4 separate regions of the Homo sapiens genome follow, and all the other regions are linked to region 4. Evidence: promoter capture Hi-C in human tissues and cell types (Jung and others, 2019). All regions are on one chromosome and are shown on one strand. The core of a region is centred on a gene start or on the middle of the fragment in contact, and the rest is flanking DNA. Distances in the headings are between cores, read along the strand shown.

Region 1 (6,383 bases), core at 3,225-5,724, 190 kb before region 4:
GAAGAGAGCAGTGCTTCTGTAATTCATGTTACTCTCTTATCAGTATTCTTCTGTCACCTCTCACACTTACAGCCCAGTTCATGCTTTCAGTTCCTCTAACCTAACCATCTCCTACCTCAGAACATTTGCACATGCTGTCCAATTATGTCTGGGGGAATCCTCTTTCCTGGCCAATTCCAAGTTATCCCTTAGTCATCCCAAGATGTGGTATCATCTTAAACGTCTTCCTCAGAGAGGCCTTTCCCAAACTAAACTAAATTCCCCAACTAAATCAAATTTCTTATTCCAGCTGCTCACTGTAACTTTGACTCTTCTTTCATGGCATTTGTCACAGTTATAATTAAGCGTTCTATTTGTGTATAGCAGAGTGGTGAAGAGCATAGGCCCTGGAATCTGAGTCTGAATCTGATTTCAGTACTTACTGAGGCAAAGCACATTAATAAGTGACTTAACCTCTCTGTGCCCCACTAATGATAGTACCCACCTCATAGGGTAATGGTGAAGGTTTAAAGAATCAACAAAAACCACGTGATTATCTCAATAGATGCAGAAAAGGGCTTCGAAAAAATTCCAAGGTACTGACGGAACATATCTTAAATAATAAGAGCTATTTATGACAAACTCACAGCCAATATTGTACTGAATGGGCAAAAACTGGAAGCGTTCCCTTTGAAAACTGGCACAAGACAGGGATGCCCTCTCTCACCACCCCTATTCAACACAGTGTTGGAAGCTCTGGCCAGGGCAATCAGGCAAGAGAAATAAATAAAGCGTATTCAGTTAGGAGGAGAGGAAGTCAAATTGTCCCTTTTTGCAGATGACATGATTGTATATTTAGAAAACCCCATCGTCTCAGCCCAAAATCTCCTTCAGCTGATAAGCAACTTCAGCAAAGTCTCAGGATACAAAATCAATGTGCAAAAATCAAAGCATTCTTATACACCAATAACAGACAAACAGAGAGCCAAATCATGAGTGAACTCCCATTCACAATTGCTACAAAGAGAATAAAATACCTCAGAAGTAACACCACACATCTACAACCATCTGATCTTTGACAAACCTGACAAAAACAAGATATGGGGAAAGGATTCCCTATTTAATAAATGGTGCTGGGAAAACTGGCTAGTCATATATAGAAAGCTGAAACTGGATCCCTTCCTTACACCTTATACAAAAATTAATTCAAGATGGATTAAAGACTTAAATGTAAGACCTAAAACCATAAAAACCCTAGAAGAAAACCTAGGCAATACAATTCAGGACATAGGCATGGGCAAGGACTTCATGTCTAAAACACCAAAAGCAATGGCAACAAAAGCCAAAATTGACAAATGGGATCTAATTAAAGTGAAGAGCTTCTGCACAGCAAAAGAAACTACCATCAGAATGAACAGGCAACCTACAGAATGGGAGAAAATTTTTGCAATCTACTCATCTGACAAAGGGCTAATATACAGAATCTACAAAGAACTTAAACAAATTTACAAGAAAAAAGCAAACAACCTGATGAAAAAGTGGGCAAAGGGTATGAACAGACACATCTCAAAAGAAGACATTTATGCAGCCAAAAGACACATGAAAAAATGCTCATTATCACTGGCCATCAGAGAAATGCAAATCAAAACCACAATGAGATACCATCTTACACCAGTTAGAATGGTGGTCACTAAAAAGTCAGGAAACAAGAGATGCTGGAGAGGAGGTGGAGAAATAGGAATGCTATTACACTGTTGGTGGGACTGTAAACTAGTTCAACCATTGTGGAAGACAGTGTGACGATTCCTCAAGGATCTAGATCTAGAAATACCATTTGACCCAGCCATCCCATTACTGGGTATATACCCAAAGGATTATAAATCATGCTACTTTAAAGACACATGCACACATATGTTTATTGTGGCACTATTCACAATAGCAAAGACTTGGAACCAACCCACATGTCCATCAATGATAGACTGGATAAAGAAAATGTGGCACATATACACCATGGAATACTATGCAGACATAAAAAGGATGAGTTCATGTCGTTTGCAGGGACATGGATGAAAATGGAAACCATCATTCTCAGCAAACTATCACAAGGACAGAAAACTAAACACTGCATGTTCTCACTCATAGGTGGAAACTCAACAATGAGAACACATGAACACAGGGTGGGGAACATCACACACTGGGGCCTGTTGTGGGGTGGGGGGCAGGGAGAGGGATAGCACTGGGAGAAATACCTAATGTAAATGATGGGTTGATGGATGCAGCGGGCCAGCATGGCACATATATACCTATGTAACGAGCCTGCACGTTGTGCACATGTACCCTAGAACTTAAAGTATAAAAAAAAAAAAGTGACAACCTCTCTGTGCCCCACTAATGATAGTACCCACCTCATAGGGTAATGGTGAAGGTTTAAAGAATTTATCCACACAAAACACTTATCCTGGCACATAGTAAGTTCTCAGTATGTGTTAGCCACAATAATAATTTTGATTTAATATAGTAGTAATTAGTAGTACTAGCAGTAGCAGTAGTAGTAATACAAGTTCTGTGAGGGCAGGGACAACTTCTACTTGTTTACTAATGCACTGGTACGTATTTACATATTTCTGGGGCTTGGCATAATTCGTGGCACATAGTTAAGTGTCAGTATATATTTCTTGAATTACTGAATTAATGAGAAACAAAATAAATACAAACCAGGTTTCCTCTTGGTCAGAAGGTTGTTTGAACATGAAAATAAGAGAACGAAAGTAAGAGCAAGATGAAAGATCAGTAAGTTTCACAAATTCAGGAGAAAATAAATTAAACAATCTTATAGCCCTCAAAATTTAGTCACAGGGTCTTGCAAAACTTTTTAGAGGGAAAAAGAAAAATGATCAAGTGCTAAAGTTTATCATTTTCAATGCCAAAGTAGAATTAAGACATGACTAAATAAATCAAAGTCAACTGATATTTGCTTCATATGATGTAATATGTATGTTACTGAAAAGGTGTATTAGGACATTTAAATATTAAGTACACAGTTAAAAGGATTATTACTGTAAAACAAATCACAATGCCCTAATTGGCCTTTTTTGGTGGACTTGGGTTTTTATATATTAGATTTACTCGTAGACCAAGATTCACCAGAATTTAAATTAATTTAAACATAAAAGTGCTGTAGAAGTCACACAAATTCAAGATACCCAAATGTGAAATTTTGAGAAGCATCTTGTTTAGTAGCAAAAGATAATATTAGCACTGTGCATTAAATCCCTAAGAAAATAAACTAGACTTCTAAGTACCAATAAAATTGCAAGTCTCCTTATGAAATCAGAGTACGGGCTTCATTTAAAGGCACAGATTGGCTTTAGGGATAGATATATAACTACATCTGAAATATCCAAGAAGGGATTTAAAAAGTGTTCCTTTCACATAAAATGTAGATATAAGAATTCCTGCAATGCTTGTATTACTGGCTGAAACAAAAACAAAACCTCCTAATCACCACCATCACAATATAAAACTGCTTTAAGAATGCCAGCAACTTTTTCACATGAAGTAAATCAACAGCATTTGTTTTACAAAGTAATATAACACCGTAATATTATTTTCATTTCTCCAATCAATATGTAGGATGAACATTCCCAGGCCCTATTTCAAAGTGAATTTACATTTGGGTCAAAATAGAATCACCCACATAGATACATGAAAGCCACAGTGTTGAGTCTGTTTTGTGGGCCAAGAATAAGCTCCTTTCTTCCCCTAAAACCCTGTCCAGCTTAATGATTGCAAGACTAAAATACTCCACCTTTACTCCTACTCAAACTTACTTTATAAATGCATTTACGATTGCTGCGTCTTCACTTGCCATTTCACTAAAGACATTAATCTTTTGTTCACACTAATGTACTCACAGTGATGATGATTAAAACACCTTTATATATTTAGTAATTTTAAATACATCTTAACTCTTAATTCATTGACTTTGCTTAATGCTTCTTTATATGCTAGATATCTTTAATATACTCAGTGTTCTTTCCTTATATAATAAACTTTAAGAAGTCAGAGATTGGACAATTAGCACAGTATTCAATAAAAGACACCTGGCTGGAGTGATGATAATTGCAAATTATGACACTAACTCCATGACTACCTGGTTGTCCAATGGTTGATTAAATAAATACTCTTTGGCACTTTCTAAGACTTTATGTTATACTCTATGGGGGATAAATACCCAGTAAACCTTGTTATCAAGTTGCTTAGAGATTGAAATTATATACTCAGCTTCTAAGGGTAGAAGGAACTTAGAGGCTTATACAGTTTTTCAGGCACTCCTGCAAATTATAATGGGTAAAGATCATTATAAGACTCTTGATGACAACCTTGACTACCACATTTCCAGGATAACAGCAACTGGCAAGGTTACAGCTCTTAGGAGTCTGTCATTTTTCTTCTGCTCCTCTCCTAGCAACAGATGCAGTTACAGGAAATGCTTTAGAAACTGGGGTTCACTAGATATTTTTAAAGGTGGAAATTTTTATAAAGGGTGGAAAATGCACCTAAAAATATCTCAAGGCCATAAAAACCACTGAGAATCTTTGAGTTCTGTGTTTAAGATCTTCAAATGACGTGTCATTGGAAAGAAAATCTCCATCATGTAATTAGCTTCACCTTCAGTACTGCTCAGAGAGACAGAGTCTTTATCACATCTAGGCATTTCCTCATCTTGCAGAGGGAAAAAATTCCTACCATTGCAATATTTTTAAATTATTCATATCTTTAATCTTTCTATCTTGCATTTGTTTATGGAAAATTTTTAAAAAGTTGATTCAGTTTGGGGTTAAAAGTAAGGTTATTTCAAGTACATATAAGAATTATTCTAAATTATGTCTAACATACCTGCATGATTGATAACAAAGCCAAAATATTAATGAGGATAAATCCCAAATGTTGTCTGAAGTTGCTGGAAATTTTTTCTATTTCAAATAAAACGGCACTAAATAGTGGTATGAAGAGAAACCCATCATTTATGCTCTGAATGTCTGACAAATTCGGAATAATGCCTGTTATACTATGCAGGTTCACAGCCTGTCAGGTAAGCATTTCTTACTGTGTGGCAGCGACAATGCATATATTAGCTATGTAAATGGAAAATCTACACACAGCTTCCAGGTTAGAATATGTTTAAAGAAATATGGTCATAAATAATGCGTAGTAACACCAAATCTGATTCTGCACTGGCTGGGTATCCACAAATTATTTATAAGGAATAAGAAACAAGATCTTTCAGACAGATCTAATAAACTAATGCATGTTATCACTAAGAAATAATGTAGAAAATAGTAATAGGTTACTTCTTGTAACAAATCAAACTCCTTAATCTTAAATATTAGTTGCAAAAATAGGTTAGAAAACAGCGTGCCCACATTATTCAGTGAGGAGTGGCTTTTTGCAATGTATTTTCTCTCCATTTTTCTTTTGCTAGATATCACATCCAGCCAGCATAGTTTTAATGATAGTTTTAATGTGGGGAAGTAAACAAATTATCATGGATGAGTAACTTGCAATTGTTGCTCATCAGGAGGTCTAGCAGGGACTTGCGTTTCATGAAATAATTTAATATCTAATCGGGTATCTAATATCTATTACATATGCATTATATATAATCAGGTATATAATATATATTCCCTCAGGTTGAGTGGAAAAAAAAAACAACTCAATGTCAAGAAAACTGGATTCTGCTCTTGATTTTGCCACTAACAATCTGGCTGAGTGAACTTGGGTAAATGGTATAACCTGTCTAAGCACCAGATTCTTCATCTGTGAAATGGGAATGATAGCTGCTTGCCTATCTCACAGGATGCTACTGTGAGTACCAAATAAGGCAACAGATGTGAAAGTGCTTTGTAAACAGTAAAAGACAAAATACATGTAGAGAATTAAAATCTAATTTCCCAAAAGTCTTTCTAACCAACTTTAGATATACGAACGTGCATGTGAAATGAGTACATATGTGTGGCACATCCATGCATAAAATCATATAACTGACAACTATATGTGTTGCCAACTTTCAGATTTGTAAAACTGTCATTAAAATTTGAACTCTGTTTTCAATGTTCTAGTCCTCTGGTCTAAATACTTAAAACAACATGCCAAAGTGTGTGTCAGAGACATGAGTGGGTCCACCCCCTCACAAATCCTCCTGAATCCTCCAGCCAATTTCCTTCTAACTGGATTGTAATCTGAAGATTCTTCTCTTAGACTTGGCCTGGTGCTCACTTAATCTTGGAGATGTGCAAGATTGTTCACATTTTGCTGGGTCACAGGCTCTTTTTACTTATCAAAATGTGCTACAATTGGTCCCTTAGTCATTTTTAAAATGAAGTATAAGCCAAATTGTTGGC
Region 2 (6,682 bases), core at 1,382-3,881, 130 kb after region 4:
ATTTAGCATTAGGTATATCTCCAAATGCTATCCCTCCCCACTCCCCCGACCCCACAACAGTCCCCAGAGTGTGATGTTCCCCTTCCTGTATCCATGTGTTCTCATTGTTCAATTCCCACCTATGAGTGAGAACATGTGGTGTTTGGTTTTTTGTCCTTGTGATAGTTTGCTGAGAATGATGGTTTCCAGTTTCATCCGTGTCCCTACAAAGGACATGAACTCATCATTTTTTATGGCTGCATAGTATTCCATGGTGTATATGTGCCACATTTTCTTAATCCAGTCTATCACTGATGGACATTTGGGTTGGTTCCAAGTCTTTGCTATTGTGAATAGTGCCACTATAAACATACGTGTGCATGTGTCTTTATAGCAGCATGATTTATAATCCTTTGGGTATATACCCAGTAATGGGATACCTAGGTCAAATGGTATTTCTAGTTCTAGATCCCTGAGGAATCGCCACACCGACTTCCACAATGGTTGAACTAGTTTACAGTCCCACCAACAGTGTAAAAGTGTTCCTATTTCTCCACATCCTCTCCAGCACCTGTTGTTTCCTGACTTTTTAATGATCACCATTCTAACTGGTGTGAAATGGTATCTCATTGTGGTTTTGATTTGCATTTCTCTGATGGCCAGTGATGATGAGCATTTTTTCATGTGTTTTTTGGCTGCATAAATGTCTTCTTTTGAGAAGTGTGTGTTCATATCCTTCGCCCACTTTTTGATGGGGTTGTTTTTTTCTTGTAAATTTGTTTGAGTTCATTGTAGATTCTGGATATTAGCCCTTTGTCAGATGAGTAGGTTGCAAAAATTTTCTCCCATTTTGTAGGTTGCCTGTTCCCTCTGATGGTAGTTTCTTTTGCTGTGCAGAAGCTCTTTAGTTTAATTAGATCCCATTTGTCAATTTTGGCTTTTGTTGCCATTGCTTTTGGTGTTTTAGACATGAAGTCCTTGCCCATACCTATGTCCTGAATGGTATTGCCTAGGTTTTCTTCTAGGGTTTTTATGGTTTTAGGTCTAACATGTAAGTCTTTAATTCATCTTGAATTAATTTTTGTATAAGGTGTAAGGAAGGGATCCAGTTTCAGCTTTCTACATATGGCTAGCCAGTTTTCCCAGCACCATTTATTAAATAGGGAATCCTTTCCCCATTGCTTGTTTTTGTCAGGTTTGTCAAAGATCAGATGGTTATAGATATGCGGCATTATTTCTGAAGGCTCTGTTCTGTTCCATTGATCTATATCTCTGTTTTGGTACCAGTACCATGCTGTTTTGGTTATTGTAGCCTTGTAGTATAGTTTGAAGTCAGGTAGTGTGATGCCTTTGTTCTTTTGGCTTAGGATTGACTTGGCAATGCGGGCTCTTTTTTGGTTCCATATGAACTTTAAAGTAGTTTTTTCCAATTCTGTGAAGAAAGTCATTGGTAGCTTGATGGGGATGGCATTGAATCTATAAATTACCTTGGGCAGTATGGCCATTTTCACAATATTGATTCTTCCTACCCAAGAGCATGGAATGTTCTTCCATTTGTTTGTATCCTCTTTTATTTCATTGAGCAGTGGTTTGTAGTTCTCCTTGAAGAGGTCCTTCACATCCCTTGTAAGTTGGATTCCTAGGTATTTTATTCTCTCTGAAGCAATTGTGAATGGGAGTTCACTCATGACTTGGCTCTCTGTTTGTCTGTTATTGGTGTATAAGAATGCTTGTGATTTTTGCACATTGATTTTGTATCCAGTGCTTCTTAACTCACACAGAATAAGAACCAAAGTCTTTCAATGACCTGTAAGACCACACACCACCTGGCCCCCAATCACTTCTGATCCCATCTACTACCACAATTACCCTTGTTTCCTGTGTTCTGATCACATTGGCCTTCTTGCAGTCAGAGTTCCTGTGTTTTGGAAGCAGATAGGCAAGATACTTGGGGGAAGCATAGGCATGGACAATAAGCAGTCTCTGCCATACCAATTCAAATTTTGAGATGACATAAAATATATTCCGTCTGCATCCCATAGTATTATTTTCAGCCTACTATGTTCTGTGTGGTGATTTAAAGCCTGTCTCCAAGTTCTTTAATATCAAGTGGGTCTAATTCCCTTCCTGTTAAGTATAGGCAGGCCTTTATCCCTGCCTCAACAAACAGAATGGTACAAAAGTGATGCTCTGTGACTTCTGAGGCTAGGTTAGAAAAGGCCATGCAGCATCTGCTGTTTCTCTTGGGATGCTTGCGTTAGAACCTAGTCACCATGCCATGAGGAAGTAGAGAGAGCACATAGAAAGCCCATGTGATCTAACATTCTCCATAGAATTAAGACTCTAAGAGGGTTTGATTTTTCCTTCCTGAGCTAGATACTAAATAAGATCTAGCCATGTCTCGTTACTGCCACTTCACTTGCTGAGGAGAATCAGGGTTATACGAACAGTGGAGAACTGTTATTTGAAAAAAAATACAACTTGTAGTTCTTGACAAACAATGGTGATGATCACTTTCTATATATTTTCCTAAACTCACTTCAACATGGTTTCTCCCTCACCATGTGATGGATACTACTGTAAGAATTAAGACCTCCAAATCACCAAATAACCATCTCTATCCTCATGATGCCTACATTTATACTTGCAGCAACTCTGATCTCCAGTCTAGATCCAACTACCTGTTTCACATTTCCACTTGGATTTCTCACAAGCACTTTAATGGCAACTGAACTCATAATCTTCTCCACCCCTACAGGCCTAGTCCTCCCCCAAGATTTTCTATTTCAGAGAATGACTCTACCAATGCTGGTAGTACCTATTATCCAGGCCAGAAACTCTCTCATTCTGTATAACTCATGTATCCCATTCACCTAACACAATGCCTGGCACATAACTAGTATTTAGAATCTGTTGAATTAAACACTTTTAGGGAAACCGCCATTAAATCGAACCCTCAACTCCTTGAAAGAAAAATGAAATGGATTACGGTTTATCTAAAACCCAAGCAAATCTCCAATCCTCTAAAACCCAGGCTCTTTCCAACATGCCAAAGCTACGACTATTTACTCGAACAGTTGAATGCTTTCTAAAATTCCCATCATTACTGTGCATCAACATGCAGTTATGAATGAATTGATTATAATTTTCTCTGCTCTACCAAATTTCTACTTCTCATACTGTGTCTCATGAATGTGTGCCACTGCTGGAAAATGAACATTAACTGTGTATTCAGGGCATTTAATGACAAACTTGAGTGAAATGTTGTTATCTTTATAGGAAAGATTTTGTTGAGCTCTACTAAGCATTTTTGAAAGCAAAGTGTGATAGCAGAGTGAAATTACATGCGAAATTATCTAAACTATTCACATGTTAGGCAGCCACACTTTGTAGTAGATGAAGCTTTCTAAATGTAGGAGATGAAGCTGAATAATATCAACCTCTGGTCAAATTAACTCCAATCCAAGCTTCTGCCTATGGCTAAAGGCACAAAATGCAAACAATTATAGTACACAATAGTGTGAGAATTCAGGTAGCAATGGAGGACACTATTACACATGAGACAGTTTCTGAATTTCATCTGCTATTTTTGATACTTATTGAGTACTTAATGTGATAGGAGATGCATTATTCCTGGACTTGGTCCCTGACTTTTCTTTGGAATGTACAAGCAGAGTGATGCATACTTTGGAGAGACTGAGTGGGCTTCTTACAGTCTGAGTTTTTCATGCTCCAGACCATCTTAATTACATTAATCAGTTGTTGGTTAACTAAATCTGTTGGAGGTATACCACTAATTGTTCAGCCAGTACACCTTGAGGGAAAAAAATGTAAGTCCTCAGTCACCTGCTCTCTGATTTGATAATTCTCAGCTATAATTTTGACCTATCCCACAGGATATTGAAAAATAAGTAATGAAATCTGTGTACGGATTGGAACCCAGTAGATAACACTTCAATTTTAAAAATTAAAATCCAAGGTATTGTTTCCATTTGAGTAACTCCAAAATTTAAACAAGAAATAATTTTTCTAGGTATGAGGTAAGATTACAGTAAAAAAGGGATGTGCCTCTTTCTAGTAAGAATGTCACATTCCCTCATTTACCTCCTTTCTAGCCCACAAAGACACATTTCAGGATAATAATAGCTTTATTGAACAATTACTCTGTGCCAGGTACCTTACTTAGATCAGGGTTTCTCAACCTCTGCACAAGTGACATTTGAGGGTCAGATTATTCTGTTATAGGATATTAATTTTAGTATACAGTAGTCCCCCTTTATCCACAGGGGCAATAAGTTCCAAGACCTCCAGTGGATGGCTAAACCCTCTAACAGTCCTGAACCTGATTACCATAATTTGAACACATTTCGGTTCACATCTTCTGCCTTTTCCATCTTAACTAAGCACTTATCATGCACTGTGGCCACAACTCTTGCAGTTTGAGGTACAACAGCAAAACTAGCATGAATTTTTTTTCTTCTTTACAATTTCACAGATAGAAGATTCATTCTTACCACATTCTTAGCAACTTCAGCATATGATGTTTTTCTTTCCTTATTGAGAACTTACACCTTTTCACTTAAAGGAAGCACTTTACAGCTTCTCTTTGACATATCCAAATTGCCAGCATGACTACTCTTGCACTTTGGGGCCATTAAGTAAAATAAGAGTTACTTGAATGCAAGCCCTGAGATACTGCAAGAGTCAATCTGATAACCTAGACAACTACTAAGCAACTCACCGGTGGGTAGTATGGACAGCATGGACAGGCTGGGCAAAGGGATGATTCACATCCTAGGCGGGACAGCATGAGAGTTCGTCACACTACTCAGAAAAGCATGCAGTTTAAAACTTATGAGCTGTTTATTTCTGGTGTTTTCCATTTAATATTTTCAGACCACAGTCTGAGGATGACAGACAGTAACTGAACTCAAGGAAAGCAGTATCATGGGTAAGTGGGGACTACTGTATTTCTGGTGTTTTCCATTTAATATTTTCAGACCACAGTCTGAGGATGACGGACAGTAACTGAACTCAAGGAAAGCAGTATCATGGGTAAGTGGGGACTACTGTATTTCTGGTGTTTTCCATTTAATATTTTCAGACCACAGTCTGAGGATGACGGACAGTAACTGAACTCAAGGAAAGCAGTATCATGGGTAAGTGGGGACTACTGTATTTAGCAGCATCCCTGGCCTTTACCCTCCCCACACCCAGTTGTGACAACCAAAACTGTCTCCAGAAATGACTACGTTTGCCGGCGGGCAAAATGTCCCTAGTTGAGAACTACTGCCTTAGATATATTCATTTATTTAATCCTGTAAAAATGCTACGAAGTAAATTCTACTTTCCACTATACAGGTGAGAAAGTCACAGAGACACATTAAATAACTTGCCTAAGGCCAGACAGCCAGTAGCAATACAGCTGGTATTTGATCCAAGGATTCCAGAGCCTGGAGTCTCAACTGCTATCTTGGTATCAAGACTTTGACCCCTTTATGACTAATGAGATGAGGCTTGGTAGATCACAATCTCTTCCAGAGTTGTTGAAAGGAATTGCTGCATCAACGAAAGCTTGAAATGGGCTTGAAAATGACTTGAAAGTAAGAGGGAAGAGGGAGTAAGGTCTCCACCTATGTATACCTGGCTCACGGTAATTGAAAGAAGACATTTGTAAAATGGAGGACCACCTATGTATAGTCTAAAAACCTACAGCTTAGTAACTTTCTTCTGCTACCACCTAAATTACTTTTACACCTAGGTAGAGTAGATGCTGAGTATAATTTAAGTGCCTCCTCTTAACAGAAATTTCTGGCCCGCCGGCCAGCCTAATTCTCATTATTGGATTCCCTCCTGTAATTGGAGATTCATATCTTCCAATTAGAGAATTCCACTTGCAGATGACCCTTGTTAAAATGCCAACATCCATATTAAGCTCTGTTAGTATTCATCTAAATAAATTAATCAAATTAGCTGCTGAGTCATTTAGCAAGCCATTAGAAAGTAAATTACAAAACAGGAAAGTTCTGATGACCCAGTCAGGGGCAGGGAAAATCTGGTTAGTGTTATGCCGGGAAGCCACATCTGGGGCTGGTAACAAGGTGGGGCAGTACAGGAGAGGAAATGCACCGGGCAGGAGACAGGTGACCAGCTGTGAGGATGCATGGACAGTCACTTATAGGAAACTTCACCTCCTTTCCATCCTTCTCTCCAGTTTCCTATTTGATAATTTCTCCCCTCCTGATATCCCAGAGTTCTTCCCTCAAAATACAGACTGGTTCCGCTTATCCGTGACAGGCTGCACAGCAGACATGCATCTGCAAAACAAATATGAGGGGCTGAAAGCTATCCTAGGTGGTGTTGCTCTTCCTTCAATCAGCTACCCAAATTGTTTTCTACAGCTTGATGACATGGATTTCTACATGCTGGAAACTAAGCCAGAATCCACACTACGCATGGCTTTTCTCTGACCCTGGCATCTCCAAACATCTTGTGAAACACAAACTTCATTTTCTGTGGGACAAGAGATTTACAGTGGGGATGCTCTATCACTTGCTGTGGATGTCAATCTTCAGGCAAGAAAGTCTGTCTTATTTATGTAGGGAGGCGAAAGGAATTCCATTCCTTTTCTCCCTAACTCATTACCTCTAAATAGTAGATAATTACTTGCTTTCTTTGAACCAGATAGTTACACTAAAAGTGC
Region 3 (6,315 bases), core at 2,597-5,096, 230 kb before region 4:
ATAAATGATTTAATAAGGAATCAAGTGTTTGTATAAATCAAACTGAATTTCTACATTTTTTCAGAAGTGAATATTTTTTCTGTAAGGTAGGATGTTCAACTAGGAATGAATGTTCGGATAGGATGAATCTAGGAATATCCAATTCTGTTAAGAGTTCCCTGTTAGAAAGTGCATGTGAATGTATTTGTGTTTCGATGAACTTTAAATCTCATTCAGAATAACCATACATCTCTGTAATCTTTATCCAGAAATAATGCCATTGAAATTCACAAACATTACAGAAACTATATCCTTTGTAAAGCTTGATCAAGTTCAAGTAACTGGACTGAATTGGAAATTGACCTTAGGTATATCATGGTAACTTAAAGAGTATGCCAAATGTCCTCAGACTGAATTAACTTAATTAAGACCACAGATAAAATATAAAATGTTACACAGGTAAGTTAAAATAAAGGTTCTACTTTGCCTAAAAAACAAGTAAAAGCAAGCCAACAGAATGGAGGAATTAAGGTAGAATCTCTCTAAAATCACCAGGGTTTTTAAAAGCTTTTTTCCAGCTAGGCATTCAGAATGAAAGCCTAGCCTACTTTGACTTGTTTTTAGTTGAAAAAGCCAAATTTCTTTAAAACTATCAATACAAATTGGTAGCAATTTTTACTAGGAAAGTATTGATAAATGAGAATCTACTTAATTTCATAAGTCAAATCCCTCTTGAGAGCAGAGCAGTTAAATGAGAAAAAAATGAAATTTTAAAGTTTTCAGCATAATATAATCTTTTCATACTAGATAAGTAAATAAATGTTATGAGTGTCAAAACCACTCATAAATGTGTACTTATGATTTCTTTTCCAGATTCTTTTTCATGTTTGTGATAGTGCCACTTAAAAGTTATTTGTCCTCCAAATTCTCTCTCCAGTGGGGCCTATCCAGATGATGTTTTGGCAAAATACAAAGATTTAGATCAGCAATGAAATGCTTCAGCAACATTCTAAGTCTTTCCTTAGCCGGGCATTTTCCTAGATGCTTGAGTATTATTAAGTGACCTGAAGATTACATATGTATTTTACTAAGATTTCACAGACTACGCAAAGAGGACAGAAATAGATTTCTAAAATTAATAAGCTTAAACATGTTAAGAATAAAAGTAAACAATCACTGTTTTTAGAAGGTACTTTAAAGTTTGAAAAAAATAGATTGCTTATAGAACTTCTTTTTTAAAAAATTCAACTGTACTATTCTTGAAATGATTTACTAATCACCATAAGCTAGCAAAAGAAAGAGACTGGAACTGCCTTGAATGAACACAAGATCTCTGTACTAATGCAGATTTGATAAAGATAATTATTCAAAAAATAGTGAGGGTGAATGATTACGTGGAACAGTCATGAAAAGACCCAGTTCATAAGATAAGCAATTCATATCACAAGGCTTGATTGAGCCTAACACGAAAGCAAGTAAATTCAGTATCAAAAGTTTCAAAGGAATAACATGCTTCTTGGTCTCTTTAAACAAGGTTATTATTTATTTGCTTAAAATGAAAGCAGAAAAAGTGCATACTGATGCTTTTTTGAATAAATGATGGAAAGCTCTTAGCTCGTATATGTTAACATGTCTCTGTGTTGGTGATAGTTCTAGTCAGAAGAGTTGCAGCTTTTTTCCCAAGAAATATCTTTGGGAAAGGTGAAAAATTATTTTTAAAAAGTCACTATTTTCACTCAGTGTGAATTAATATGGCCTTCATCGCGGTATGAGAAGAACCACTTTTTACTCACTTTTTAAACTTTAAAGTGCAACTAATGTATTGCTTGTCATTAGACAGACTTACTTTGTGAACATTACCTTTAATTTACTAAATATACTTTTGTCTCCAAAATTACCTCCAATTATTTACAGCATCTCACAGATTATAATGAGTGGTTTATCCTTACGACAGTTTCTCTTGCATTAGCACCAGCTGAGCTTTGCAGGCAGAAATGAAAGTTAGAACATTTCTGCAAACTAAAATAGGCAGCAAATATCTCCACATTAGCTTCTGTGACTACATTCGGTCATTGGTGCTCACAGTCATACTTTTTTTTTTTTTTTTTTTTTTTTTTTTTTTTACATCTTAGCATTTCTTTATTTGAATTACTGCATTCAATTAATATTCACTGAATGCCTGTCATACACGAATGCTTTTCTTAATAACATTTTAATAGGTTAAACTATTGGGCCTTTCAAAATAAATATTATAAACATGGATCCTTAGATAGTATCTCAATATTAAATTGAAGCCTAAATTCCTCCCATCATCAATTCAGTTTGTCCAGGAGACAAATCACATGCTAAAAGTTAAAAAAAAAAGCTTCATTTCTTAAAAAGCATTTCTGTGCATATGCTCTTTCAAAAGTTGAGCCTGCCAGAATCTCATAGATCACAGCAGCCTGAAGTAGGCATATTAGAAAGAATGAGGTCGTGTTTAATTCCCCCAAAGGTTATTTTCTTGACATATGTGTTTTTTTCTTTCAACTGACTTATTTTGGATGGAAATTTTAAAGTAATCATCTGACTCCAAAATATAGCAGCACTAATACACTTCAGCCAACTTGTTGAACAAATTACTCAGTGCAAAGAATGGAGACTTAAATATGTGGAGCAGAAAAAGGAAAAGATGCCTGAAAATGAATTCAGGAGGTGGTAAATGAGCTTTGAGCTAATATTATTGATTACTTAAAAAAAAAAGCCTTTGAGTCAGACAAGAATTATATGTAGGTGGCAAGCAATTCTTACAAATACAGGTATTATGTTACAGGGACTATATCTCCTGAATCATTTTGGAATTCAAAGGCCCTAGGTAGTTTTGCCTCAGGTATCTCTTCACCTAATTTGAAATTCAAATGTATTAAACTTCCAAAGCTAAATATGACAAATTAGACATGGGCTCTGAAGTTAGCATTTAATGAGCTATGAACCTAGACTTTCATCTCCCCAGGAATAATTTATTACTTTTTGTATTTTATTGCAATAAAGCACCATTTGACCTTCAAGTATGATAATTAAGCTTCCAAAAATGTTATAAATTTAGAGTGAAAACAGTTCTCCCTGTGTTCAAGAACATACTTATGCTCAGTATAAAAGATTTCTTAATATTTAAAGACAGCTAAATTATACACAGAACCAGCAATATTAGGAATTATTTTTCTCTTCCCTCTCTGATTTTCCACCTCAACTTGATTTATGTCTCAAAACAATTTATCATCTTTCATATTCTAATATAAACGAAATAGGAACAAAATGAAAATATATCTTTATAACCTGCAACTAGGAGATAGAGAACTCTTTCAGATAAGATTTATTCCAATAGGAGCTATAAATAATGGGGCCTCAAACATTAAAAATTATGGCTCATTGTCTTACCATGCTCATGTCACCATCTTTTCTGGGGAGATATCCACACATTTTTCAAAAATTTGCTTACAATATAAATACAAGTTTTAAGTGAAAAATCAGAATGCAAAACAATATCATTTGAATTGTTGGTACATTTTTATTTTTATATTTATTTATATTTTGAGAGAGTGTCTCGCTCTCTTGGCCATGCTAGAGTGCAGTGGTGCATCTTGGCTCACTGCAATCTCAACCTCCTAGGCTTAAATGATCCTCCTGCCTCAGCCTCCCAAGAAGCTGGGACTACAGGCATACAGCACCAAGACCAGTAAATTTTTTTTTGGGGGGGGGTAGAGACAAGATCTTACCACATTGCCCAGGCTGGTCTTGAACTCCTGGGCTCAAGCAATCCACCCGCCTCAGCCTCCCAAAGTGCTGGGATTACAGGCGTGAGCCACCATGCCTGGCCAAATTTTAATTTTTAAAAAATTGTTACTGTGTAGCAACTTTTAAAAATCCTAGACCTTTGAGAACTTGAAGAGATGAAGTTCATAGATGGAGCAGATGTGAGAAATTGCAGGTATAAATTGACCCAAAACCTGAGAACATATGGCTTTTAAGTAACATTTAGAGGTTGGAAGGAAAATCACTAGGCTCAAAAGAGGAAGAAGGAAGAGGAAGAAGTGGAGGAGAAGGAAGAAACCTTGTTGCTAACATCAACAGAAATTGCTAGAGATTTTCCAATGTCTATTCTTCTTTTCTTTATTTCTTTATTTCTCAGCGCCCCCCTATAGCTTCCTGTGACAAAGGAATTAAGTTCTGCCCATATGAGGTGAGCAGAAGTGACTAGGGTCACTTTCAGGGCTGGGTGATGTCCTAAAGGAATGGGCATGCTTCCTTGGCCCTTTCCCCTCCCTGCTGTAGGAGGTGGTGAGTGCTGGAGCAGCCAGCTTGGCGCCTAGATTTGGAAGCTACTTGCTGTGCACAGTAGAACGACCCTGCCAGCCCTAGACCATCTATCTTCAAACTGGTTTATGACTAAGAAATAAACTTCTAGTCATTTAACCCACCCACATGTTGAAGTACTTTGCTTAGTACCTCAAGTACATAGAAGCTTAATTGACACTCTAACTACAATAGTTAATTTCCCATGGGTGAGGAAAGGGTCCCTTTTGGGGAAAAGTTTCTTCTCTTTATCTCAGTCATAATCTTAAAGGCCACAGTAGCAATTAGAGCTGATCCAACTGCAAATTCCTGTGAGTAGAGAGACTCTATCTTGAATATCTCTGCATTCCCAATGCTGAGCACAATGTCTCACACATGGCAGTTCCAAAAATGCTAGCTGAATGGATTCTGATAACATCAGCAAGCCAATATTACTAAAACCATTGTTGTTAGAAAATTCTAATCATCTCCTCTGTTCCTTTTCTTCCTTATTGCTTGTACATATGTCATCTTCTTCCTTCACTTTTCTTCATATTTCTTTTCACTTTCCTTTACATACCTAAGGATGAATTGTATAATCTGTCTTGCTCTAAGATAGATTTAAGGCAGCTTACAAAAAAAGGCAGACAGCTGAACAAGATAATAAAGGGGGGAATCAAAGATGACAAACGAGGGTAGAAAAATAATACATGCCATTTTGAGATATGTATGCAAGATGCATGCCCCCAGGACTTCAATTTGGTTCTCAAGCCATAAAGTTACAGAAATAGAAGAGTTCATAACTTTAAAAGAACACATATTATTCAGGAGAAGGACAGTTATTGCAGGTACACAGACTGTATAGAAGTTTCTTCTGTAGTTTCTCATACAGGACAGTGAGCAATAAAGCAAACATCATCTCAAATACCATGTAACCAACTCTGAGTTTTGTTAGGCTACTCCTAGTAAAGTTCATCAATGAAAAAAGAGTGCACAATGCCTAAATACAGATATAAAAGCACTTCTGGGGACATGGGAGGTACAGACTGGCTGGCAATTAAAGAAATAAGAGTAATTCGGCATTTTTGGAAAAGTGTCCTTGCTTTATATGGTTCATTCATTTCCTAAACTAATATTTGAGTGCCTGCTAAGTGTCAGGTACTGTGCCAAGTTCTGGGAATGTAAAAATGATCCAGTCTCTTCTGGATCAAGGGATCCAAAGTGTAGTATAAAATACATTTAGAAGTCAATGCATTACATACAATATGGTAAACTAAATTCAGTTAGCAAATATAAGGTGGGAGAGTGATAAAAATAAAGATGATATAGGAGGAGACACTTGAACTGGATCTTTAAGGATGAGCGCAACTTCATCAGTTAGACAGCAGAGGAGGTATGGAGGAAAGTACACCAGGGAAAGGAGTTGGCATATATGAGCTACAGTGATAGGGTCAGGATGGCATCTCTGATGAAGGACATACTTATTCCAGCTGAAATAAAGAGTCTGGTGTCAGGTGAGGGTGATGGGTGTGGAAAGATCTAAATGTGGAGATGACGTTGGAGAGAGAGAGAGGTGGGACAGATCAGGGAAGTCCTGAAATCCAGGCTGAACTGGGGGGAAACAGAGGGCAGTTATAGGGTTTGAGGCCAGGAGCATTTTGATCAATGTGTGAAAGGCCTGAATAAAAAAAAATGGCAGTGGGCATGGAAAGAAAGGGGTTGGTTTAAGAGACATTGTGTAAATTGGCCTTAGACACACTGGATATAGACATGGATGACCACAAGGAATAAGCAAAGAAATGTGTTACCTAGGTCTCTGTTTAGTGACTGGGGTGATGATGAAGATGCTAACCAGAACTGCAATAGAGGGGTACAGATTTGGGACGGACTAAAGTTCAGTTTAGAATATATTGAGTTCAAGGTGCCTAAATGACACCCAAATGTAGTGTTTAGTAATAGTAGTGAGAGCTAACATCTACGGAGTATGTGCTAGCCACTATGCTATGCACTTCATCACGACATTTA
Region 4 (6,076 bases), core at 209-2,708:
GTCCCAGAAGAAATACAGAAAAGAGACATTTTTTATTTTTCCACATACTCGATGTACTAGCTTAAAATACATGTACTACATAATATTATATTTCTTGGAGCTAAATTTTATTTCTTCTGTAATGTTTATTTTTGATGCAGGGCTGCATAATGATTCCATTTTTAAGATACCTCTAAATTATAAGGGATTCCAGCCTCTACCTGGAAATTAAAGCTGTGCAGATAAAATACAAAGTCATTAATAAACATCACAAAGATAATTCTAACAAGAAGCACCATGTAAAAGTAAGGCAGGAATCAGAAAAATCATCAATTACTGACATATTAAATCACACTTTCAAAAGAATAGGGAGCTGGAAGCAGCCGCTCCCTTTCAGGAGGGCTGTATGACACTGAATGAAATGCCAGGGACTCCTGGCTGGTGAGCAGCGGGAACTTTGCGGTCGAGCGGCGCGGGGCAGCCACAGACCTGGGCGCTTCAATCTGTCACCAGCCTGCCCGCAAAGCCCAGCGACAGCCCCCAACGCCCCCCCGGGGACCCATCTGGGGGGACCGGGAGCAGGACAAAGGTCTGAAATCCAAGTCCTAGGAGTAAAGAAACAAAATGCGCAGGTTCAATTTAAAGTGCCTGCGGTAAGTACGGGGAGTGAGGGGGAAAGACACCGGCCTCCAAGAATTCTCAGGCGTTTAGCACAAGCACCAGCTCATTACCAGGAGATGCGTTCGGGGAGTGGGGACATGGAGAATGAATCCCAACTTGTGACTCCATTCTCCACTAACTTTATTCTCGCTCCCTGGACCAAGCGCATCGCTGGGGCCAGGGTTGTCATGGTTCTTGTTTCCAAGGCCCCTTGGAAGAAGGAAAGGGATGAGAAAGGTGCGCTGGCGGGCGCACCCGGCGGCGGCGAGCGCGGAGGTGCTGCGGTACCTACCATGGTATTCTTGTCCCGGAACGTAGTAGGTGGGGTTGCCCGCAATATGCAGGGAAATGAGCACCTCGCCCTGCTCCCCATCCCCTTCCAGCTCCCCGTGGTGGGTGCACAGGAAAAAGAAGGGCGAAAAGCGGGGGTAATAGCCAGCCGCCGCGCGCGCCCTCAGCGTCGCCCCCAGCAACAGCGCTAGGAGGAAAGTCTGCCGGGCCCAGCCACTGCGCTCCATGCCGCCGCCGCCGCCGCCGCCGCCGCGCGCCCTACGCGCCGCTCGCTCATTCAGTTTTGGAGACGCCGGGACGGAGGAGCCACGCGGAGAGAAGGCGAGAAGAAGGCGGACGGGAGCGGAACGGGCTCGGGAGCGGGCCTGGGAGCGGGCCCCCGCCGAGAAGTTCCGCGGGAGACGGCGGCTCCCAAAGTTACTTTGGGCCGCGGGAGCGCGGGACCGGGGCTGCGGGCGCCGAGAGCGCGTCGTCTGCCGCCTCCGTGCGCCGCCGCCGCCTCTGCGCGACGCCCCTCGGCCAGGCCTGGGAAAGCGCCCGCCCCGCTCCACACCTTCTTAAAGCCCCGGGCGCCGCGTCCCCCCCGCCGCCGCCACACGTGTCCCGGCCGCTCCCCCGCCCCCGCGCGCCGCCCCGCCCGCCCCCCGCCCTCTCGGGCTGGCTCGGCGGCACCTCGCGCGGCGAGGGGCGCACGCGTCCCCGGAGTCCCCGGCCAGCGCCCGGTTCGCACCCGGGAGGACAGGGAGGGGCGCCCGCCGGGGAGCGGGACGGGGACGCTGTCGAGGACCGCTGAGCCCGCGACTCTTCTGCGAGGGACGTCAAAGCCCCGCAGAGGGCACCTCCCGTCCAGCTGTCTGAAGGGGAAGGCCAGCCCCTTTGGCCGTCAGTGTGCCCTGTTTTTCCTGGGAGGATGCGTGAGGGAAGGAGAGGGGCGGCAGGGACGGCCGCTGGCGCCGGTTTCTTTGTCTGAGCCGGCTGCGTCCCGCGCCCCTCGGGGCTCGCAGTCTGCCAGTCCGGGCGGCCCGCACTCGTTCTGGGAATCCGCCCGAGGCCGCGAACCGCTAGGGGCCCTCGCGCTCCCTTCCCACCCAGGCCCCCTGTCCCTCCCGCCGCGGCCGCCCGGCCCCTCGCGGCAGCGACAGAGCCTCATCTGTAGAGGATTTTAAAATGAGATTAAGCGAAAGTGGAATTGGCAGACTCGAGTGGTGCCTGGAAATGGTGATTTGTGCTGCTCGGTTGTGGGGAATTGTAAGGCAGGAAGGGCTGGCGGAGCTAAGATCCGACAGGCTCTCTTCGCCGGACTGTTCTGTTATTCATTGCTTCTGGGCTCTTCAGGCAGAGATGGGTGTTGTAATTTTTTAAATCAGTGTTTATTTCCTTTAAATGTCGGTTATGACCAATGGCCCTGAAATCGGGGGAGGGAAAAACGTTCAGGGGAGATGCTGGCAGCGGTGATTGAAGCGGGTGGTAATGAGCGGCTGCACATGAACTGCAGGGAAGTGAAATAATCCATAAGCACGTTTTTAACCGAGGACGGCTGGCAGGAGCCCTGCGGCATCCGGAGATGGGGGAGCGGGGTTGCCAGGTTTTAATGCCTCTCCCCACCCACCCTTGGCTTGCCACCAAGCCAGATAAACCCGCACGTACAGAAATGAGTAGATTATAAAATTGGAAGGGATAGTGCCTTTGCCTGCATTTGTGGGGCGAGGGGCGGTGAAAATCAGGGTCCAAGGGGAGACCTCTGTAATCACTTCGTTGCAAAAGGAAGAAATTGTTTTTCTTCCTCTTACTGAGACCGAATGACAGGTAGAAAGGGCCCATTTCTAGCTGGCTTCTTGTTTCCCTTACTTCAAAATCCCCAGAGGCTTAACTGCCATATAAATAATATACAGTGTATACATATATGTATGTGCATATATATATATATGATGTGGTAACAATTGCTACACTGTAGCTCTGCGGGGTGCAGGCTGTGGGGCTAGACGTACTTTAGCTTTTTAATCCTAACACCAACTGGAGAGGCAAAAAATATCCCTATTTCACAAGGGAGGAGGCACTCAGAAATGTTGATAACTTGCCCAAAGTCAGTGACAAAGGCTGGATGCAGGGCAGACTGGCTGGCCTCAGAGGCTCTTGTCCTGCACTGCCCTGCCACAGTCGACAGCCCTAGCTGGAGCAGGTGGTGTTGCCCCAAACAGAATTAGGAGATACTCGCCCACAGCTAACAAGGCTGTTACTGCCTTCCTGTCCAGTCATGTGAATATAGCCAAAGACAAAATTAATCACTTGTAGAAAGAATCCAAAACTATTTAATGTTTTTGGCTTACACTTTTAAAATGTTTAGTTACTATGCACTGAGCACCGTCCTAAGTACTATACATACTAACTCCCTTATTCCTCATAACAATACTGTGGGAAAAGTACCATTGATAGCTTCATTTTACTATGATGAAACAGCACAGGGAGGTTAAGTAACTTGTCCAAGGTCACACAGCTAGTGAGTGCTGTGACTTGAACCCAGGCAGTCTGATTTTGACACACTAACCACTGCAAATCGCCTCTAAAGAATGCATGTTGGTGTTGTTAGAGGGATGGGGGAATAATTATTCTTCATCCAGTGTCAGAATACCTCATTTAATCCTTATATTAGCCTGCAAAGTAGGTATAATTATCTTCATTTTTAAAGAGAAGAAAGTTGAGATTCATAGAAGTTAAAGGAGCTTGGGATCAAGTCTGGCCATGCTTGATGCCAAGGTCGCTGCTTAAATAAACTGTCTTTAGTAAGCGCTGACACTTGGTCCAGGACATGATTGGAATTTAATTCATATAAGGTCCTCAATTCCCAGGAAGTCCCCTTCTTTCCATTGTGTAGTGCACTCTCAGAGAAATATTCTTTCTCGTATCTCTCGACATGGCTTTCTTAACATTCAATTTATGTGACCAAGTTTATTTTTCAATCTTCCCCTTTATTGTGCTTCCTTAATTTTTACCACTTTGCTTTGCTATTACATTTGAATAACTTTTATACTGTTAGCCATGAAGCAAGCTCATATTTCTGGCTACAGCCCTGCAGTTGTTCAGTAACAGACACAAAGACTGTTTTTAAATAATGTCCTGAGTGGTGTTGAGCTGGTCAAGAGGGGAGTAAAAGTTGGTACACTCCAGTCTGCAGTCCTTAGAACTAACATGAATACCTTGTAGAGGCTCAAGTTCATATTTGTTTCATCTCTGACACTTTTTTTGATTAGGCCAGTTCAACTAGTCATTAAAAACTTTTAAATAACCTTTAGAAAATCAGAAAAATACATAAATCATATATAAAATCCATTGAACCGAGAGTAGCATCTTCTTAGTGAGCAACTTACTTGAAATCACGCAATAAGGTGGAAACCCAGGTTAGATAGCAAAACTTCCTGTTTCCCAATTCGTGTGCTAACCCTTACACCTCGTTTCTATTTAGTGAGCCATAATAAGTATCTCCAAGAATATTGGGTCTGCAAAATCCAAAAACCTTCCGAACTAATAGAAAAATAGAGAAGTGCTTTTCCAGAAAAAATGGTTTACATCAAAAACATCTGCAAAAAATAAAAGGTGATGTCAGGTGAAAATGAATAGGCTTGTGGGAAAGGGAGTTTAAAATGGAATGAGATTTATTTTTAATTAAAAGAGTTTTGAAATAGTAATTAGTCTACCAAAAGAATTAAACTAAGTATTCTTAGAAGATAAATCCACTTCTTCTTGATAAGTGGAAATTATTGCCCAGTATTTGAATAATCATAACACGATGGGAATTAAATTCATATATATATATATATTTGCTATGTGTGTGTATATATATATATATATATATCTGCTATATCTCTCTATATATACATGTATATATATACATATATCAGATACATAGCTTTTAAATTATTGGGAGGTGATTCATCCATATGAAATACAAAGAAGACATTAAATTATATTTTAAGGTTGCAAGAATTCACTCATCTGCCTTCCATTGATATTTTTTGAGATGAAGCATTAAACATTTTGGTATATGTGGGAAAGTGAGTCACTATTCTTATTTACCATGTAAAAATCAAACAAAGTTTATAAAATCAAAAAATATGTAAATATAAATATGAAGAGGGTGAACAAACTGAAATCAGTTGACTTATTAGACTCTAAAATGGTAATAAAAGGCCACATGAGAGCAAACCCAATAGCAGCTAATAAACTTATAAAATCTATTACTCATAAGACATGGTACTGTATGATAAAATTGAGGCTCCTAAGCAAAAAACAAAAATCAAAAAAAAAAACACACAAAAATAGACCCTAAAGATCAGTAAGCCTTTTGCAAATGAAATTGCACTGAGAAAGGTGGGATATTAGGGAGTTGGCTCTGTTACGTACGTCCTGCCGGAACATGTTACTTATTGCCACCCCAGATTGAAATACCATGATGAGATAAACTATGGGACAACACAAAGTCATTATATTGTAAGATTTCTGAAACAGAATCTGATTCCTCAACACTAAAAATCCCTTTTTTTAAAGTTTCTCCACTTCCTGGGATTTTCCCTGCCCCTGCTTCTCTCTGGAATGCCCTTCCTGTTTCCTGTGGCCTAACCACACATCTTCCACCCTCCTCTCCCTCACCTCACTTCTTACTTGGCTATAGCAACTCATGCTCCAAGTCTTCTCTCACACATTTTTGCATCTGAGAGATCTTTCCTGATCCCTCATCCTAAATTATGTCCTCTAGACCAGCACTATCCGATATAGTGTCCTAGTCCCCAGGTAGCTATTTAAATTCAAATCAAATTAAATTTAAAAATAAGTTCTTCAGTCACATTAACCACATTTCCAGTATCCAATAGCTAAGGGTGGCTAGTAATGGGATAATCTGTAAGGCTGCACTGTCTGTACTGGACAGTAAGTGCAGACTTACAGATTATCCCATTACTGCAGAAAGTCCTATTAGACAGCACTGTTCTACATTGAAAATGTGAATGAATGCCCAGTCACCAACACATTCATTCAATCAGTATTTATCAGACACCTCCTATGTGCCAAACTGCTGGATGCAGTGGACTCAGTGAATAAAGCTAATACAGTGCCCACCCGTTTGGCATCTACAATCTAGTGCTGGGGACAGACA

The links. Contacts are between HindIII fragments. The study calls those that stand out against the background at their distance.
Region 1: a fragment that was not itself captured here is called in contact with the fragment with the promoter of RELN in region 4 in 1 of the 25 tissues and cell types used here (mesendoderm cells).
Region 2: a contact is called between a fragment that was not itself captured here and the fragment with the promoter of RELN in region 4, in 2 of the 25 tissues and cell types used here (liver and thymus).
Region 3: a fragment that was not itself captured here is called in contact with the fragment with the promoter of RELN in region 4 in 4 of the 25 tissues and cell types used here (IMR-90 fibroblasts, heart left ventricle, mesendoderm cells and 1 more).

What each region holds. Positions count from the first base shown.
Region 1 is chr7:103,799,394-103,805,776 of GRCh38, forward strand. All of the region lies in intron 3 of RELN (reelin), which reads right to left. Among named protein-coding and RNA genes, the nearest start is that of RELN, 190 kb to the right of the region's middle. RefSeq lists a silencer at 1-176. The HindIII fragment of the contact is 5,714 bases long and covers 1,618-6,383 here.
Region 2 is chr7:104,119,222-104,125,903 of GRCh38, forward strand. No RefSeq gene overlaps it. Among named protein-coding and RNA genes, the nearest start is that of ORC5, 85 kb to the right of the region's middle. RefSeq lists a silencer at 6,048-6,211. The HindIII fragment of the contact is 3,735 bases long and covers 765-4,499 here.
Region 3 is chr7:103,757,921-103,764,235 of GRCh38, forward strand. The region is part of intron 4 of RELN (reelin); the gene reads right to left. Among named protein-coding and RNA genes, the nearest start is that of RELN, 230 kb to the right of the region's middle. The HindIII fragment of the contact is 4,227 bases long and covers 1,734-5,960 here.
Region 4 is chr7:103,988,200-103,994,275 of GRCh38, forward strand. RELN (reelin) reads right to left here and starts at 1,459. Exons shown (of 65, transcript NM_005045.4): 1 at 932-1,459. The coding sequence starts at 1,157. The HindIII fragment of the contact is 8,012 bases long and covers 1-6,076 here.